5 separate regions of the Homo sapiens genome follow, and all the other regions are linked to region 3. The links are contacts of gene promoters, found by promoter capture Hi-C in human tissues and cell types (Jung and others, 2019). All regions are on one chromosome and are shown on one strand. Each heading gives the region's core, a stretch centred on a gene start or on the middle of the fragment in contact. The rest is flanking DNA. Distances are from core to core; before and after follow the strand shown. Region 1 overlaps SAFB2 (scaffold attachment factor B2). Region 2 holds the start of HSD11B1L (hydroxysteroid 11-beta dehydrogenase 1 like). Region 3 holds the start of KDM4B (lysine demethylase 4B). Region 4 has its middle 18 kb from the start of TINCR. Region 5 overlaps CHAF1A (chromatin assembly factor 1 subunit A).

What was found. Contacts are between HindIII fragments. The study calls those that stand out against the background at their distance.
Region 1: a fragment that was not itself captured here is called in contact with the fragment with the promoter of KDM4B in region 3 in 1 of the 25 tissues and cell types used here (dorsolateral prefrontal cortex).
Region 2: a contact is called between the fragment with the promoter of HSD11B1L here and the fragment with the promoter of KDM4B in region 3, in 1 of the 25 tissues and cell types used here (dorsolateral prefrontal cortex).
Region 4: a contact is called between a fragment that was not itself captured here and the fragment with the promoter of KDM4B in region 3, in 1 of the 25 tissues and cell types used here (dorsolateral prefrontal cortex).
Region 5: a contact is called between a fragment that was not itself captured here and the fragment with the promoter of KDM4B in region 3, in 1 of the 25 tissues and cell types used here (dorsolateral prefrontal cortex).

What each region holds. Positions count from the first base shown.
Region 1 is chr19:5,602,481-5,605,180 of GRCh38, forward strand. SAFB2 (scaffold attachment factor B2) reads right to left here. Exons shown (of 21, transcript NM_014649.3): 10 at 2,307-2,456; 11 at 2,103-2,215. Among named protein-coding and RNA genes, the nearest start is that of SAFB2, 19 kb to the right of the region's middle. The HindIII fragment of the contact is 4,913 bases long and covers 1-2,700 here.
Region 2 is chr19:5,679,605-5,682,304 of GRCh38, forward strand. It overlaps HSD11B1L (hydroxysteroid 11-beta dehydrogenase 1 like), which reads left to right and starts at 1,423. Exons shown (of 8, transcript NM_198706.3): 1 at 1,423-1,667. It overlaps MICOS13 (mitochondrial contact site and cristae organizing system subunit 13), which reads right to left and starts at 912. Exons shown (of 4, transcript NM_205767.3): 1 at 854-912; 2 at 1-159. The coding sequence starts at 882. RefSeq lists enhancers at 1-140, 521-630, 661-740, 761-860, 871-1,340 and a silencer at 1,391-1,600. The HindIII fragment of the contact is 40,206 bases long and covers 1-2,700 here.
Region 3 is chr19:4,967,768-4,970,467 of GRCh38, forward strand. It overlaps KDM4B (lysine demethylase 4B), which reads left to right and starts at 1,346. Exons shown (of 23, transcript NM_015015.3): 1 at 1,346-1,463. RefSeq lists silencers at 810-909, 1,220-1,519. The HindIII fragment of the contact is 14,440 bases long and covers 1-2,700 here.
Region 4 is chr19:5,548,565-5,551,264 of GRCh38, forward strand. No RefSeq gene overlaps it. Among named protein-coding and RNA genes, the nearest start is that of TINCR, 18 kb to the right of the region's middle. The HindIII fragment of the contact is 3,354 bases long and covers 1-2,700 here.
Region 5 is chr19:4,414,902-4,417,601 of GRCh38, forward strand. The region is part of intron 3 of CHAF1A (chromatin assembly factor 1 subunit A); the gene reads left to right. Among named protein-coding and RNA genes, the nearest start is that of CHAF1A, 14 kb to the left of the region's middle. The HindIII fragment of the contact is 3,051 bases long and covers 1-2,700 here.

The DNA.
Region 1 (2,700 bases), core at 59-2,558, 630 kb after region 3:
AAAAAAAAAAAAAAAAAAAAAAAAAATCTTAAGTCCATCACCCAGTTAAGAGCCATGGGGCTCCGAGCAAACTTCATAGGTTGAATCCCAGCCTTGCCGTTTCCCAGCAAACTCAGGCAGGGCGCGCTCCCCTCTCTAGGCCTGTATCCTCTCCTACATAGAGCAAGTGCCTCACAGGGCTACTACAAGGACCAAGGAAACTGCTGCATTCCCAGTGCTGGCCACAGGACCACACCATACTGTTAGCTAATTATTACCGCCTTTCCCACAAATACAGAAAAACAATTAATGAAACACGCAAGATACCAAGAACACCGCAAACCTGCAACAACAGTTCCCCATCTTCCACCAATACAGACATTTTTTTCTTAGCAATGCTGATGGGATGTGTCTTTTTGAAGTTGCTGATTAAATTAGAGGGCTCACCGCCCCCCCCACCCCCCTCCTCCAAGTTCATGAAGGCTCATCTGACACTCATTACTCAGGGGCCTACTGATTTCAATCTGGGGCCAGGTGCAGTGGCTCACACCTATAATCCCAGTCTTTTGTGGGGCCAAGGTGGGAAAATTGCTTGAGGCCAGGGTGGAAACCAACCTGAGCAAAAGAGCAAGACCCTGTCTCTATCAAAAATTTAAAAATTACCTGGGAGTGGTAGCCCACACCTGTAGCCCCAGCTACTAGGGAGGCTGAGGTGGGAGGTTCACTTGGGCTTGGGAAGTCGAGGCTGTAATGAGCCATGACTGCATCAATGCACTCCAGCCTGGGTGACCCGTCTCAAAAAGTAAAATGTTTTTTAAAAATAATAATTCCAATTAAAAATAATAATTCCAATTTGGCCATGATGTAAATTGGTAATTACATCTTCAAAAACCCAGTTCAACTATGTCCACAGACATGTTTACCCTCTAAACTGCGTTGACAACGTAAACTTAAGGCAGACACTCAGCCTTCTGAGACACTGCCATGATCAGATACAACACGGAAATCTACCTTCTCAAAAGAGAAGCCTACAATTGTGTTAAAAATATAAACAACCCACACCTCCCTTGAAAGATCTGTCCCTACCTCCATTTTGATTAAAGATATAAATCACCCCTTTATAAAAATAGAACCTCAGACCCATGGTTCCCAACTACTACGCCAAGGTACGCCAAGGTACCCCAAGGTGCCACCGTGAACTCACAGGGTGCCACCGTGAACTCACAGGGTGCCACCGTGAGAACTCACAGGGTGGCACTGTGAACTCACAGGGTGCCTTGGAATATTTTTAATTTTGAGGTAAACACAGCAATGCTTTTGCCATCTGTCAGACACAGCACCAACTGCTCACTCAAGGTCATTCACTGCAACACTAGACCAGGCTAAATTCCTTTGGATGATGCTTTATCTTTGAAAAACTGGGTGTATGACAGTTGCTGTGATTAATAAGTGAGAACTGCATGAAAATCAACGTGGATGAGGAAATGATTCCAAGGTCTGAGAGGCTGTACAAGGGACCAGAATATGGAAAATGACATTTTGTGTATACTGTTTTTTCAAAAGGCTAATCAGTTATCAGGAAACAAATACATGCTGAGGATCAACTGTATCCACTTCTTAAAGACATGGGCTACTTCGTTAAATAGCTTTACACAGAAAGCTGAAGACTGGCAGGGCGTGGTGGCTCACACCTGTAATCCTAGCACTTTGAGAGGCCAAGGCGGGCAAATCATGTGAACTCAGGAGTTTGAGACCAGCCTTGGTAACATGGCGAAACCGCGTCTCTATAAAAAGTAGCCTGGCTGGGTGGTGTACGCCTGCAGTAGTCCCAGTTACTTGGGAGGCTGAAGTAGGAGAATCACTTGAACCCGGAAGGTGGAGGCTGCAGTGCCACTGCACTCCAGCCTAGGCAACAGAGTGAGTCCCTGTCTCCAAAAAATAAATAAATAAAAGCTGAATATTAAAGTGGCAGCAGAACACAAAAATCAGCTGAGACTCCAGCAGGAAGCTGGCAAGGCTGCGTGGGTACAGGTGGGGACAGATGCGTGTTTTTCAAGGCCCATGGTGGCTGCCCGTGCCCTCCTCCCAGGGATTCCAAGAGGAGGTTTGAAAATTCACTTTACTTTTCAATTTTGATCTCCACAGAATGATGTCTGTCGACACTCGATAATTTTTCCTTCTTCACTTCGCACTCTTTTCTGTCGGAAAGCTTTTTCCCAGCAGGCTCATTTTTGGCCTAAAATATAATAGACAGAAATGATGTGTGGCCCAGAGCTTCTCACTTGCAAACTCCATTTGCGAGTTACCATAGACGAGAACTGCCTCACCTTCTCTACGGAGATCATTCGTCCATGCAGCTCAGTTCTGTGGAGATGGCTGATGCACTTGGTCGCCTCGTCAGATGTCGACATGGTGACGAATCCATAGCATCGAGCCCCCGGGCTGCGGGCGTTCGTTACCACTTTGGCCCCGACAACCTTCATGAAAAAGGGCACTCTTACTCTCTCATACAAATGACCACACAACTTGCTAAAGTTATTACCTGGCAATCAGAATCATTTTCACTATTTGTCACCTCTCCCCATATGGTAGTTTTCCATTTTAGTTACTGAATTGGTTCTAATTAATCCTGACCTATCCAAATACAATTGCTTTTTTTTTTTTTGAGACAGTTTCGCTCTGTCACCCAGGCTGGAGTGCAGTGTCGCGATCTCGGCTCAC
Region 2 (2,700 bases), core at 173-2,672, 710 kb after region 3:
GTCTGCTGACACACGTACTGGCTGAACTGGTACATGGCGGGGGGGACCACCTCCCCAGCCTTCTGTAGGGCTGCCTGGCTCTTGTCGCTGGGCCCCAGCAGCTCCTGGTCGTACACCAGGTAGACGGCGCCCCCAGCCACACTTCCCTTGATGAGGAACCTGCGGGCAGGGACGGGAGGAGCAGAAGCTCAGCGGACACTGACAGCCACCCTCAGGGGCCAAGGCCCACGGGGAGAGTGAGACCCTCCTGAGGGCTCACCGTCCACAGGGTGACACTCTGTAGTGCAGCACCGTCGACCCAGACCCCTATTATATACAGCACTCGTTTTACAACGTGCAAGGCAGGGCGGCTGGACGCCACTTGAACTGATGAACTGAAACCCAGAGGGGGAGAGTGGGTCACTCAAAGTCCCACAGTGAGCAGGGGCAGTGAAGACGTAAGATCTTGACCTTCTAGAAGCCTTCCAGCCCTGGAGAAACCAAGTGTCCCTGGGCGCCTCCTGCCCGCTGTCACTCGCAGCTCCGAGCACGCATTCACTTCTCATCCACGCCAGCGGCAGGATTCACCGGCATTCCCACCTCACAGAGAAGACAACTGAGGCTCGGAGGCGGAGGCTGACACCGCGAACTGAACGCCAAGGGCTCGCTGGGAAGCAGGAGGGAGGGGATTGGCGACCTCGGGAAGCCCCGCCCCTCTGAAGCCTCAGTTTCCCTATCTGGCCCATAGGCGGGGAACGAAGGGGAAGTGACTCTAAGGGAAGCGAAGAGCAGATCGGGACCAGACTGGAGACAGGGATGCCCACAAAAATGGACTTTTTCGGGGACTCGGGTCCCCTCCGGCGCCCCCACGCACCTCATCAGCGACCACACCCGGGCCACCATGGTCGCTCGGATCCACGCGCAAGGACACTCGGCTCGCCCGCCGCTTCCTGTCGCGGCGCCGCAGAGGCCTCTGGAAGGTGTAGTCTTTCTTGCCCGACGCAAGGTCCTCTGGGAGTCGTGGTGTCTTGCGGCTCTGAGACTCCAGAGAAGGGCTGCGGTCTCGCAGCGGAGGGCCGCTGGGAAATGGACGCTTTAAGGCCCGGGCCGCCGCAAGGCTGTCTGGGAAATGTAGTCAGCACGGCGCTGTTTGCACCTGGCCGCGGAGCCTCCTGGGAAATGTAGTTCGGCCCGGCCCTGGCACCGTGAGGGGAAAGAGGCGTCAGGTGCCTGGCTGAAGCCTGAAGGTGACCCGAAAACAAGTCAGAGCCCGAGAGATCCACCCGCGCCCGCGCGGGGGACCAAGGGCCCGGATTTAAGAAGAGTGTGCCTACAAGGCGGTTGTCACGGCAACGAGAGGGCGGGATTGTTCGAGCGCTGCGGCCCCCTCACGTGATCGATTCGGAGGCGGGGCGTCCGCCCAGTGGGCGGGGCCGGGCCCCTGCTGGGAGGCGAAGACCAGGCGGGCACTGTTGCCCGGCGACGCTCCGGCGCTGGGTCCCCGAGGCCCGGCCCCTCCCCGGGAGGAGGTGGGCTTCGAGTCACGTGACCCGTGCCCTACGGGAGGGGGTGCGGTCGGGGACCCGGCAGGAGGCGGCCGAGAAGAGAGGACCGTGGGGGCGTTCGCGTGGCTCCCAGCCCGGGACCCCACCCCCGCTGGACAGTGGGGGAAACTGAGGCCTGAGCGGGTGAGTGCACGGTTTAGGGGTGCGCAGAGGGTCACACGCCCGCTTTGTTCAGAGGGGAAGCTAAGGCCCGCCGAGGTCAAGAAGGGGCCGATGCGTTCTGCAGGGCTTCCCCCCATTTCTCCCGCATTTCGGCCGGGCTGCTTCAACCGTTCATCTGCCCATCCATCCATCTGTCCCCCACCCGTCTATCCATCTGGCCATCCACCCATCTATCCTTCCATCTATCCATCCACACTTCCGTTCATCCATCTGTCCGCCCATCCATTCATCCATCTGCTCCCCCCATCCTTCCACTCATCCATCTGTCCACCCATCCATCTATTTATCTGGCCACCCACTCATCTATCCGTCCATCCATCCATCCATCCATCCATCCATCCATGCATCCGTCCGTCCATCCATCCATCCATCCATCCATCCATTTATGTGTTCCCATTTATCCATTCATACATCCATCCACTCATCCATCTATCCACCCATACATCTCTCCGTCCATCATCCATCCATCCACCCATCCATCTATTCATCTGGCCATCCACCCATCCATCCTTCTATCTATGCATCCATACATGCATCTGTCCATCTATCCATTCATCCATCCACCCATCCGTCCACCCGTCAGTCCATCTGGTCCCACTTCCCCCTGCCGGGCTGCTGCAGTCAGTGTAGAGCTGGGGGTGGAAAGAGGGATGAGCAGAGGAGCTTCATGGGCTGTCCCTGGAAGGGGAAAAGGTGGAAGCTCGTTTCTTGCTGTGGGCATGCCTGGTGTGTCTGGGAAAGGTGAGGAGTTCATTATTTTGAGAACTGAACGATTCATAGATGGGGCCGTGGGAGAGAAGGATAGACAGGTAGTCAGGGGCTATACCTGCAGGGCCTCATGGGGTGCAGTGAGGAGCCTGGTTTCCATCAGTTGCAGTGGGGACCCCTGAGAGGGTTTGGAGCAGGAAGGGCCATGGCCATGTTGCTTTTGACACAGACGCCTTTGGCTGCATTGACAGAAGAGGCAGGGAGAGAATGAGTATGGACATGGGGA
Region 3 (2,700 bases), core at 96-2,595:
CGCCCGAGCCACAGCACCGGGCCTGGCCTCCTTTTCAATTGCTACATAGTAAGTATTCCAGAGTACTGATTGCTATTAAGTTACTTCTCTAATCCCCCACTGATGGATAGTTAGTGCAAAACATTGGAAACAGTTGCAGACAGCCCTGCCGCCGGCATTCTTGAATTGTGTAAGCTCCAGACCTTTTTTCTGGGTACATCACCTCCAGGAAGAACTGCTGGCTGGGTTATCGGGTGGTGGATGCACTTAGAATGTTATTAGAAAATGTCAAATTGCCCAATTTACACTCCTGCCACTCCAAATGGGGGCATGCCTCACACCCCTGCGTGGTCCAGTACACAATGAATGCTCATTTTGTGAAGTCACAGGGTCAAATCTTTCTCCGTGCCTCATCCCACTTAATCCTTGCAACATTCTCAAGAGGCGGGTAGACGGGGTGTGGCCACTACCATCATATCCATTGCACAGTTGGAAACAGACTCAGCGAGGTTACTTTGCTGGAGGTCAACCACAGTGAGGCATGGGGCCCGGCTTAGCTTTGAATCCAGGTCAGAAAGCACCAAAGCTCATTCTCTCCCATACATTTTAGGGAACTCGGGGAGAGGGACCCTAACTATTCCGAAGGCCTTGCCCCTTGGCAAAGGTTTGTTGATTGTGATGGGAATAGACCTACGGTGGCGGGGTGGAGGCTCTTGCTGCTTTACCCTATGTTCTCGGTTCTCCTCCTTTGCAAAACGGATCGCTATGTCTCCTTGCTTGGCACTTTGCAAATTGGGGAACGCTAAGCCCACATTCCGGCCACGGGTTTCGAACCTCCAGCCTGCACGTTCCCGGCCGGTGCTGATGCTGTGCTGGGTCTCACGTACTCAGCCGCCGCCTGATAACCAGGGCGGGGCCCGGAGCTTGCGGGCAGTGATTGGCACCTGCCCCAGCCTGTCCGCGCCTCGGGCTGGCCCCTCAAGCCAATACTGGCTCCTCTCTGTGCGGTCGTCGGGCGGGCCCTGAGGCTCCCTTGTCAATCCAAGGCCCAGCTGCCGTCGGGTTGGTCGCGGCAGCCTTGGCTGGCGTGCGCCCCCTCCAATGAGAACAGAGCCGGTCAGCGGGCACGTGGGTGGGCGCCGGCGTGTCCCCGCCGGTCTGCCAATGAAGAGGCGAGGCCGGCGTTTGTCCCCGCCCAATCGCGGCGCGCGGTGGGCGGGCCGTGCGGTGTTGATGGGCCCGGCGGAGGGGAGGGGCGGAGCTGTCAGCTCCGGCCAATGGGCGCTCGGGCGTGGATCCGGCAGCCAATGGCAGTCGGGGCGGAGCTGGCGCGCGGCCTTATAAGCCCCCCCGCGAGCGCTTGCGGAGGGCTCGGTCGCCAGCAACCGAGCGGGGCCCGGCCCGAGCGGGGCCTGGGGGTGCGACGCCGAGGGCGGGGGAGAGCGCGCCGCTGCTCCCGGACCGGGCCGCGCACGCCGCCTCAGGTGAGCCCACGGGGAGGCCGCCCGGCCGTGTCCGAGCGCGGACCCCGCCGCCATGGCCGCCCCCGCGTCGCGGCTCGGGGCTGCGGGCGCGCCCGGGACTCGAGGCCCAGGCCTCGGGCGCGGCCTGCTCGGGCCGGGCCTCGCGCTTTGTCCGGGCCGGCGGGGCGGTTGGGGCGTTAACCGCCCGGCCCGGGGGCGCCCGCTGGTTTTCGGGCGGGGGCGGCGGGGCCGGACAATGGCGGGGCGCGCCCAGGGGCGGGAGCGGGGGCCCCTTCCCGGGCCGGGGGCGCGCGGGGGCTGGGCACAGACGGCCCCGGCGCCCCGCACAAAAGATGACAGCGTGGGTGGCCCCGGCCGGGCCCTTTTATCACCCGGGACAAGCCTCGGCCTATTATTATTATTATTTTTGAAAGAAAGCAAGAAAAAGGAAAAAGACCCCAGCCCCTGGGTAACCCCCGCCTGCGTTTCTGGCCCTTTGGGCGCCAGGGGGGCTAAGGGGAAGCCCCCCAGCTGGACACCCAGGGATGCCCCCTAAATGCCTATCATTGCTCCTGCACTGCCCCCACCTCCGGTCAACCTGCTATGCCTTGGTAGCTTCCAAACTTGCCCCCCTGTACGTACCCGAAACCCCCACCCCGCCATAAGCATATGCAATCTGGATTTTAGAAAAAAATCATCTTGCTATGCAACGGCAGCCTCCACGAGTCTCTCCGTCCCTCCCCCTTCCAGCCTGATCGCCATCTCGAACGAAGCCCCTGCTCTAGAGAAATGAATTGAGGAGTTGCTTCCGCCGAGACCCCTTTTCTGTGTCCCCCGTGGACATCCCCCTGGGAGCTGGGGACGGACTCGCTCTGAAATCTGCTTGACCTGGGGTCTGCCAGGGCCCAGGTCTGCGCTCAGTGGTGGCCATGACAATCAGGCAGGACGGGGGACTCTGTCCACCTGGGCACGGTGGAAGGTTTTAAGGGGCATGTTTTCCGCCCCTGGGGGCAGTGGAGGCATGGACTGCTTTTGGGTGCATCCCATCTGTTTGCTTGGGGGAGGATGCTTCTGTTTTAATAATTTACCAGCACCCTGTGAGGAAGTGTTCCCCGAGTTGTGAAACTAGTGAGAAGGTGGTTCAGCTCCGTGGAGCCTAGTGATCCTGTCATATGTGAAGAGCGTCTTTTTCCATGTGTTTCTGGCTGGGGCGTGTATTCAGCAAGTTCCTTTGGGTCCCACCGGGTGCCTGCACTGT
Region 4 (2,700 bases), core at 93-2,592, 580 kb after region 3:
TAGATACCTACTGTCAGGCCTCTGAGCCCAGGCCAGGCCATCGCATCCCCTGTGACTGGCACGTATACATCCAGATGGCCTGAAGTAACTGAAGATCCACAAAAGAAGTAAAAACAGCCTTAACTGATGACATTCCACCATTGTGATTTGTTCCTGCCCCACCCTAACTGATCAATGTACTTTGTAGTCTCCCCCACCCTTAAGAAGGTTCTTTGTAATTCTCCCCACCCTTGAGAATGTACTTTGTGAGATCCACCCCTGCCCACCAGAGAGCAACCCCCTTTGACTGTAATTTTCCATTACCTTCCCAAATCCTATAAAACGGCCCCACCCGTATCTCCCTTCGCTGACTCTCTTTTCGGACTCAGCCGGCCTGCACCCAGGTGAAATAAACAGCCATGCTTCTCACACAAAGCCTGTTTGGTGGTCTCTTCACACAGACGCGCATGAAATTTGGTGCCGTGACTCGGATCGGGGGACCTCCCTTGGGAGGTCAATCCCCTGTCCTCCTGCTCTTTGCTCCGTGAGAAAGATCCACCTACCACCTCAGGTCCTCAGTCCAACCAGCCCAGGAAACATCCCACCAATTTCAAATCCGGTAAGCGGCCTCTTTTTACTCTCTTCTCCAACCTCCCTCACTATCCCTCAACCTCTTTCTCCTTTCAATCTTGGCGCCACATTTCAATCTCTCCCTTCTCTTAATTTCAATTCCTTTCATTTTCTGGTAGAGACAAAAGAGACATGTTTTATCCGTGAACCCAAAACTCCGGCGCCGGTCACGGACTGGGAAGGCAGCCTTCCCTTGGTGTTTAATCATTGCAGGGACGCCTCTCTGATTATACACTCACGTTTCAAGGGTGTCAGACCACGCAGGGACGCCCGCCTTGGTCCTTCACCCTTAGTGGCAAGTCCCGCTTTCCTGGGGCAGGGGCAAGTACCCCTCAACCCCTTCTCCTTCACCCTCAGTGGCAAGTCCCGCTTTCCTAGGGGGCAAGAAACCCCCAATCGCTTATTTCCGCACCCCAACCTCTTATATCTCTGCACCCCAATCCCTTATTTCCACACCCTGACCTCTTTGTGCCCCAATCCCTTACTTCCGTGCCCCAACCCCTTCTCTGCTTTTCTGGAGGGCGAGAACCCCCCACCCCTTCTCCGTGTCTCTACTCTTTTTTCTGGGCTTGCCTCCTTCACTATGGGTAAGCTTCCACCTTCCATTCCTCCTCCTTCTCCTTTAGCCTGTGTTCTCAAAAACTTAAAACCTCTTCAACTCACACCTGACCTAAAACCTAAATGCCTTATTTTCTTCTGCAATGCCGCTTGACTCCAATACAAGCTCGACAGTAGTTCCAAATAGCCGGAAAACGGCACTTTCAATTTTTCCATCCTACAAGATCTAAATAATTCTTGTCGTAAAATGGGCAAATGGTCTGAGGTGCCTGAAGTCCATCAGTCCCTTCCTACTCTCTGTGCCCAGTGCAACTCGTCCCAAATCTTCCTTCTTTCCCTCCCACCTGTCCCCTCAGTCCCAACCCCAAGCGTCGCTGAGTCTTTCTCATCTTCCTTTTCTACAGACCCATCTGACCTCTCCCCTCCTCGCCAGCCCAAGCTAAGTCCCAATTCTTCCTCAGCCTCTGCTCCTGCATCCTGTCATTTTTTTATCGCCTCCCCTCCTCACACCTGGTCCGGCTTACAGTTTCGTTCCGTGACTAGCCCTCCCCCTCCTGCCCAGCAATTTACTCTTAAAAAGGTGGCTGGAGCCAAAGGCATAGTCGAGGTTAATGCTCCTTTTTCTTTATCCCAAATCAGAAGCGTTTAGGCTCTTTTTCATCAAATATAAAAACCCAGCCCAGTTCATGACTTGTTTGGCAGTAACCCTGAGACACTTTACAGCCCTAGACCCTAAAAAGTCAAAAGGCCGTCTTATTCTCAAAATATATTTTATTACCCAATCTGCTCCCGACATTAAATAAAACTCCAAAAATTAAATTCCGGCCCTCAAACCCCACAACAGGACTTAATGAACCTCGCCTTCAAGGTGTACAATAATAGAAAAAAGTTGCAATTCCTTGCCTCCACTGTGAGACAAACCCCAGCCACATCTCCAGCACACAAGAACTTCCAAATGCCTGAACCGCAGCGGCCAGGCGTTCCTCCAGAACCTCCTCCCCCAGGAGCTTGCTACACGTGCCGGAAATCTGGCCACTGGGCCAAGGAATGCCCGCTGCCCGGGATTCCTCCTAAGCCGCGTCCCATCTGTGTGGGACCCCACTGAAAATCGGACTGTTCAACTCACCTGGCAGCCACTCCCAGAGCCCCTGGAACTCTGGCCCAAGGCTCTCTGACTGACTCCTTCCCAGATCTTCTCGGCTTAGCGGCTGAAGACTGACGCTGCCCGATCGCCTCGGAAGCCCCGTAGACCATCACGGACGCCGAGCTTCGGGTAACTCTCACAGTGGAAGGTAAGTCCGTCCCCTTCTTAATCAATACGGAGGCTACCCACTCCACATTATCTTCTTTTCAAGGGCCTGTTTCCCTTGCCTCCATAACTGTTGTGGGTATTGACGGCCAGGCTTCAAAACCCCTGAAAACTCCCCCACTCTGGTGCCAACTTAGACAACACTCTTTTATGCACTCTTTTTTAGTTATCCCCACCTGCCCAGTTCCCTTATTAGGCCGAGATACTTTAACCAAATTATCTGC
Region 5 (2,700 bases), core at 50-2,549, 550 kb before region 3:
CCTGCTGTCAGGTTTTAGCGGCTTATCTGGTCTGGGCTTAGAAATTAGATACCCTTTAGTATAAAATCAGAGTCCATAGGCTCTGAGAGGATTATCTGAGAAAGGGTGCAGGAATTTTCATGCCCACACATAGTGAGCTCTGTCGCGACTCCTTGGGATTGTCGGTTTTTGTGTTTTGGCTTCCTTCTGGGATCCTGGATCACGTTTTTGGCAGTTGAGGGTGCTGTCTGACCGGGCTCCAGCTGGGTAGAATGTGGGAGTGTTGCATAGAATTTTGAGAGTGAGATCTATAAACACTTGGGTCAAATTTCAAGAAGATAAAGTTCTGTCAGACTTCAAGGTCCATCTGAGGGTTTGGCAAAGCAAAAAAGATACCAGTTTTAAATTAAGCAGTAATTGCTCTGTTTTGGTTGTTGGATATTACTGAGCGGGCTCTTGCCAGTCACATCAAGTCTGTTATCTCTGGACTCACAGCAGAGGGGGGGCATTGTAAGAGGCAGGAGATTCTGCAGCTGAGCTTCAGGCATGGGCAAGACTAAGGAACTGAATTCCCCGCCACCCCAAGACCACATTCCGTATTATAATCTCTGAACACAAAGGGCAGCCCCGGAGAGCTGCGGCTCCCATATTCTGCAGTTAAATCCCTCAGCGTGGGGGAGAGGCACACAGCCTTGGCAGGCAGAGTAGATGCTGGAGAGACAGATGCTTTTTCTGCAGCATTTGGTGAGGCTGCCTCGGGCTGGCATTTCTGTTGCCACATTCTCAGCAAAGACTGAACACCCTGGCCTGATCTCGGTGGTGAAAGAGCTCCTGCCAACACGGGCAGCCTTCTCACAACGGCTCGGCCTTTCCCTAAAGAAAGGTTTAGTCCAGAAAGGACTCAGTGGGACCCAGGTGGAAAGGCTGTCTTGAGCTCATTCATCTGAAGCTTTTATTCTGTGAGAGGTCCTAGTCAGGGGTTCAGCTTTCCCAGATAAAGAAATCACTGTTGGCCGGGCGCGGTGGCTCACGCCTTTAATCCCAGCACTTTGGGAGGCCGAGGCGGGCGGATCACGAGGTCAGGAGATCGAGACCATCCTGGCTAACATGGTGAAACCCCATCTCTACTAAAAATACAAAAAAATTACCCAGGCATGGTGGTGGGCACCTATAGTCCCAGCTACTGGGCAGACTGAGGCAGGAGAATCGCTTGAACCCGGGAGGCGGAGCTTGCAGTGATCCGAGATGGCGCCACTGCACTCCAGCCTGGGCGACAGAGCGAGACTCCGTCTCAAAAAAAAAAAGAAATCACTTACATAATTTTGTTGACCCCTCAGACCATTGCCAGGAAAATGGGCCTTTGGTTTTTCAGTCAACTTCAGTCTTACACTGCAAGTCTGCAATGAACCCGGAGAACTATTTCTTCCCACTCTTAAGCGTCTCTTCCCATTGCTCTTCACTTCTACTAGTTTGGTTTTCAGGATTCCCTGCCCCGGTGGGAGATAGCTTAGGCCAAAGTCCAGACTCCCTGTTCGTCTTCCTTCCTGGGACCATTTAGGTGGATGGTGAGTCACACCATGGATCCTATTGGTAATTCCTAGTAGCTCATGCTCAGTTTGAAGGTAGGTGATAGAAAATATTGTGCCCTAGAAGGTAGAAGTCCTAGAAAACCCCAGCAAGTTTCCCTTTTGTCTTAAGCTTTCACTCCACATTCTAAAAAGCAGAGTTGGCTGGGCGCGGTGGCTCACGCCTGAATTCCTAGCACTTTGGGAGGCGAGGCGGGTGGATCACCTGAGGTCAGGAGTTCGAGACCAGCCTGGCCAACATGATGAAACCCCTATCTCCACTAAAAATACAAAAATTAGCCAGGTGTGGTGGCACACGCCTATAATCCCAGCTACTCAAGAAGCTGAGGCAGGAGAATCGCTTGAACTTGGGAGGTAGAGGTTGCAGTGAGCCGAGATCGTGGCACTCGCTGCACTCCAGCCTCTGTGACAGGAGTAAGACTCCATCTCAAAAATAACATTAAAATAAAAAGCAGAGTTGAGCTAGACAGAATGTAAATTAGTGGTGCACAGGAAACCAGCCTGGAGACATGTTTTATTTGATTAATTTAGTATCTTTTTATTTTTTTTTTAGACAGTCTCACTCTGTCACCCAGGTTGGACAGCTCAGTGCAGCCTCAACCTCCCGGGCTCCTCCCACCCCAGACTCCTGGGTAGCTAGGACTACAGATGTGCACCACAACACCCGACTAACTAAAAGCTTTTTTTAGAGACAGGGTCTTGCTTTATTGCCCAGGCTGGTCTTGAACTCCTGGGCTCAAGTGATCCTCCCGCCTTGACCTCCCAAAGTGCTGGGATTACAGGCATGAGCCACTGTGCCCGTCTGTGTCCATTTTTAAACACCTAAAAAAATTCATATGAAATTCCTAATATCAGCTTCTCTTGGAGAAATTGGAAGGACCAGCAAATAGGGATCTATATTCCTGTAAGAACTCCATCTCCTTTGGACAGGCAGGTCCTCTCTCCTTTGCTACAAATCCATCCTCTCCCTGTCGCCCAGGCCAGCTGTCGCTTTTTTTTTTTTTTTTTTTTTAAGACAGAGTCTCACCCTGTTGCCCAGGCAGGAGTATGGTGGCGCAATCTCGGCTCACTGCAACCTCCTTCTCCTGGGTTCAAGCGATTCTTCTGCCTCAGCCTCCTGAGTAGGTGGGATTAC